2 separate regions of the Homo sapiens genome follow, and region 2 is linked to region 1. Evidence: promoter capture Hi-C in 16 types of primary human blood cells and fetal thymus (Javierre and others, 2016). All regions are on one chromosome and are shown on one strand. The core of a region is centred on a gene start or on the middle of the fragment in contact, and the rest is flanking DNA. Distances in the headings are between cores, read along the strand shown. Region 1 holds the start of PYDC2 (pyrin domain containing 2). Region 2 holds the start of OSTN (osteocrin).

Region 1 (2,674 bases), core at 61-2,560:
AGATAAGAAAGGCAACTGGATTGGAATGGAAGTGAAAGTGTCTGTATTAGCAGATAACATAATCTTGTATATAGGAAATCCTAAAAAATTCACTCGAAACCTGTTAGAACTATTAAATGAGTTCATCCAGGTTTCAGGATACAAGATCATACATAAAAATCAGTTTTTCTTCTACACACTTGTAATGAACAGTCCAAAACTGAAATTAAAACAATTCCTTTTAGAATCATATCAAAAAGAATAAAATACCTAGAAATAAATTTTAACAAAGAAGTAAAACTTATGCTCTGAAAATTACAAGACATTATTGAGAGAAATTAAAGAGCTAAATAAGTGGAAAGCATCTCGTGTTTATAGATTGGAAGGCTTAATTTACATTGTTAAGATGGCACTACTCCCCAAACTGATCTACAGATTCAATACAATCCCTGTCAGAACCTCAGCTTACTTTATGTAGAAATGGGCAAACTAGTTAGAAAATTCAAGTAGTATCGCATAGACCCAGTACAGCCAAGATGATATTGAAAAATAAGAGCAAACAAAGACAATTCACCTTTCCTTATTTCATGACTTAGTAATTTATTTAGTATTTCCTCATTTCATGACTTAGCATCTTAATGGTAATTAAGATAATGTGGTACTGGCATAAGGATAGGCACATTGCTCAATAAAACAGAACTGAGAGTCCAAAAATAAGCCCGTACATCTGTGGTCAACTGACTTTCAACAAGGGTTTCAAGACCGTACAATGGGGAAAGAATAGACTTTTCAACAAATGATGCTTAGGCAAGTAGATTTCTACATGCAGAAGAATAAAGTTGGACCTCTATTTCATGCCACATACAAAAATTAACTCAAAATATATCAAATACCCAAATGTAAGAGTTAAAGCTGTAATATTCTTATAGTAAATGATAGGGGTACATCTTTATGACCTGAGACTTGGCAAAAGATTCTTAGACATGACATCAAAAGCATAAAAAATAAGAAAAAAATAGATAAATTTGATTTCATCAAAATGAAAAACATTTGTACCTTAAAGGACACCATCATTAAACTGATAAGACAACTCACAGAATGGGAGCAAAAATTTGCGTATCGCGTATCTAATGAAGGACCTGTCCCTAGACTATATAAAGAACTCTTACAACTCAGCAATAAAAAGACAATAACGCAATTTTATAATGAGCAAAAATCTGAACTGATATTTCTTCTAAAAAGATATAAAAATATATACTTATTAGTATATGAAAAAATGTGAGAACCAGAGCATAGGGCCAGGCGTTGGGAGAGCTCCCACATAGGACAAGATGGCATCTTCTGCAGAGCTGGACTTCAACCTGCAGGCTCTTCTGGAGCAGCTCAGCCAGGATGAGTTGAGCAAGTTCAAGTCTCTGATCAGAACAATCTCCCTGGGAAAGGAGCTACAGACCGTCCCCCAGACAGAGGTAGACAAGGCTAATGGGAAGCAACTGGTAGAAATCTTCACCAGCCACTCCTGCAGCTACTGGGCAGGGATGGCAGCCATCCAGGTCTTTGAAAAGATGAATCAAACGCATCTGTCTGGGAGAGCTGATGAACACTGTGTGATGCCCCCACCTTAACCCCTCAGGGATAGTGAGTTGATGGCTGAGCTAGATGTTGCTTTAGCCTTGGTTCTGCCTCCATTTTACATGCACATGTTGCTTAACCTTGTTATATATGAAATATCTATATCACCAGTATTTTGAGATAAATAAAGGTGAAATAATTCACAAACATTAAAAGAAAAGATGCCTGACAACTTTAGTATTCAGGGAAATGCAAATCAAAACTATGATGAGATACCACTTCATATCCACTAGGCTGGCTAGAATAGAAAGATAATAACAAGTATTGGCACAGATGTGGAGAAACTAGAATCCTCATATACTGCTTATGGAAATGTGAAATTGTGCAGCCACTTTGGAAAACAGGATGGCAATTTCTCAAATGATAAACAGAGTTCTCATATGATCTAATATTATATTTATAAGTACATGATCAAGAGAAATAAAAACATAAACACAAATGTTTATAGTGTCATTGTATACAATAGCCAAAAGGTGGAAACAACCTAATGTCTGTGAATGGACAAATGAATAAACAAATTGTGGCATATGCAGCTAATGAAATATTATTCGACAAAAATGAAGTATTGATCACATGCTTAAACATGAATGAACATTGAAAACACTATGCTAAATGAAAGAAGCCTGTCATAAAAGACAAAATATTATATGGTCACATCACATATGATATGATTCCATTCATAGGAAAGTTCAGAATGGCCAAATTTATAGAGTCAGAAGTAGATAACAGGTTGCTTAGGACTGGGAAGGAGAGTTGGTGAGTAGAGGGGAATAGGGAGTAATAGCTAAAACATTTAAGATTGCTTTTCGAGGTGATGAGAATATTCTGAAATCAACTATGGTGATGATGGTACATATCTGTGAATAAGCTAAAAACATTTAATTGTATTCTTTAAATGAGTTGTGTGATATGTGAATTATATCTCAATAAATGTTAAAAATGCAAAAAATGAGACAATGAATGTTTACCATCTTTTCATATGTTTAAAGACCGTTAATATTTCCATTCAATGAACTATTTATTCATACTCTTGACAATTTTCCTTTTTTATTCCATTTTTGTT
Region 2 (2,674 bases), core at 126-2,625, 260 kb before region 1:
GTTTTCCATCATGTGGATTCAAGCTAACATAATTGTTTTATGGCAGTAATGTCTAAACAAGGGTCCACAATTAGGCTGTATTTTTATCTTGATTTGTGAACTGTCTCTGCCAACTACTCAAATTTCAAGCTTGTTGAGACATATGTTATCCCTGGAAACCCATCATAAAAATGAAGCATTTTACTGTCCCACTAATTCTGTGTGCTCTGGTCAGTTTCCCCATCTAGATCCAAATTAACCATGTAATTGTCCTTATACTAGTGACTAGTATTTTAAATGGCCTTTTTAGGGAAACCAAAAAGAATAAATTTATTGCTTTTTGTGCAAAAATATAATCTGGTTTGGATTCTCTTTTCTAGCTTTTAAAGCAGTGAGATAGAATGCAGTCGTGGGAAAAGAACTGGATATGGAATTAGGAAGATCTGCATTTGAAATCCAGCTCTGCGACTACTTCTTACGTGTGTGATCTCATAAAGTCACTTAATTTATCTGAGCCTTGGCCTCTTTACCTGTCAGATGGGGACCCTCTGGTGAATCAAATGAGCCATTAACGATCTAATAACATAACATGTTACCTTTATAACTTAATAATTCATTTAAAAAATAATTTGTGTATGTAAGGATGCAAATATAATTAGTAGGAGATAAGAATGAAAGAAAACCTTCAGCCAAAGGCAGAAATATTTTGGTTAAAAAGAAATCAAAGTACTGAAGAACAAGAGCAAGACAAAAATGATTACAACGTCTTCATTTATAGCTCACATGTCACAGCTCAGTATTTATAGGTTTGTTAGTGACAGCCTTCCCAGTATAGCAATGTTAATTACGAAGTAGCTGTCATTGTGTTTCACTGACACAGCACTGTGCACCTGACGGAGGCTGAAAGTACTCATTATTTCCATAGCTGATCATTTAAAGGTCCAAAAATTACACCAATAAATCCGTTTGTGTCTGATTACAATCTCTCTATATCGTACATTGAAATTCCCTGGTGACTTTTTAACAAATCTTAGTGCATTTTATTTCCCAAATATGATTTGTAATAATCAGAGCTTGACTAAAACCTCAGGAAGAGGTGATGGGTGTGAAGCTGAACACAATACTAAATCTATATTCAAATTTTCCAGAGCCTATACTTCCATCGTTATTTAAATGCCATGATCAAAGCAATAGATAGACTAAATATGGAGGGAAAGGAGGGAGGGAGAAACTGAAGAAGGAAGGGAGAGGGAGGGAGAGAAAGAGATCGAAGAGAGGCTTGGGAAAATGTTCAGTGGAAAATCTGTAGAAATGATGTAAGAGAAAGCAAAGGCAGGGATTGGAGTAAGGGGTGTATAACTGAGACTATAAAAACTCAGAGAGAAAACTCACCACCAGGGCTGAGTTTTGGAGAAACTGCAGAGACAGTACTCTAAAGTTAGAATCTCCTGATCTTTCACGAGGTAAGTTATATGTAAAAATTGATAAAGATTTAATGCTTCTTTTAACTATTATTTTTACTTTCACAGACTCTTTAAATGTTTTGATTATATCTTGATTTTGTTAAAATTAGAGTGGTAATATTTCCCTCTCTAAAATGAGTAGAAAATCAAAGATATTTTTGTAATGCAAACTTAAGGTAGAACTAATTGCTTATTCAGATATTTCATATTTATAAGATTGCTTTTCTCTTCCATTTCAAAACAAACAGAAAGTGAATGCAAAATAATAATTCTATACATATATATGTTATTAGCGTTATTTTGCTTTCCTCAAAATTGTGTAATATTAGAAAAATGTTTAATATAAAAGAGTGGTCTAAACAACCTAGGTAAAAAAGAAAGGTTTTTTCCTCATTATTTCTATCAAAACTGGAGCTTAAGAAACATCCCTAAACTAATGAAATTCTATCTCTTATGTTCTTAAAACCTAATGCATCTTCTGTTTTTCTCCTTATATGTCAAATATGCAAATATGATATTAATAACATAGTTGGAGTAGACTTAGAGTATGCCTGTTCTTCAGTATTTGTAGTGCTCTTGCTATTCAATGATTGAATTGAGAGTTAATCTGAAACATACATTTGAGCTCTGTTGGAGAAGAAATTTAAAATTTTATTTCAGGTTTAGTGTGCACTCAGTGAATTCAGTTCTAACAATTCAAATGTTGTTTCTTTGAATAACAGACTCTATAGGTTTAGGAATGTGATTATTATTTGTTTATGAGTTTTCCTTCTAAAAATTTAACATTTTTGAGAATGAATTATGGTAATTTTAATGCCTATATAAGTTATAGAATTGATAGTGTTATACCAAAAACACCAGGGACATTCTGTGTTTTCTCTTACTTTGGTACTACTCTTCAGCACGCTTACAGAACTTTTCTAAGGAGCACTTTCTGTAGATAACAGTTCAGGTCTCCTTCATGTCAGTGAATTTTACTATGGCTTCATTCAAAAATTATTCAGAGTGTTTAAGGTTGACATTTGCTTTCTCCCCCTTATTTCTCAGGATTTTTAACTGATTCTTATATACTGAATAATGAGCAGTAGAGAAGCAGATATCTTCAGTTGACTGGGCACGGGAACCTCAGGGCTATAATTTTAACTTCTTTTACAAATACTCTCAATGATTTGAACATTTGATTAATAAAATTAGATTAATTGAACTTGTCTCAAAAATAAAGAACTCGAAGT

Evidence for each region. Contacts are between HindIII fragments. The CHiCAGO score rates a contact against its expected background, and 5 or more counts as called.
Region 2: the fragment with the promoter of OSTN here is called in contact with the fragment with the promoter of PYDC2 in region 1 in 17 of 17 cell types (total B cells, monocytes, neutrophils and 14 more); the score reaches 27.7 in total B cells.

Annotation. Positions count from the first base shown.
Region 1 is chr3:191,459,853-191,462,526 of GRCh38, forward strand. It overlaps PYDC2 (pyrin domain containing 2), which reads left to right and starts at 1,311. Exons shown (of 1, transcript NM_001083308.1): 1 at 1,311-1,604. The coding sequence starts at 1,311. The coding sequence ends at 1,604. All of the region lies in intron 1 of PYDC2-AS1 (PYDC2 antisense RNA 1), which reads left to right. The HindIII fragment of the contact is 8,936 bases long and covers 1-2,674 here.
Region 2 is chr3:191,197,866-191,200,539 of GRCh38, forward strand. It overlaps OSTN (osteocrin), which reads left to right and starts at 1,376. Exons shown (of 5, transcript NM_198184.2): 1 at 1,376-1,442. The HindIII fragment of the contact is 2,884 bases long and covers 128-2,674 here.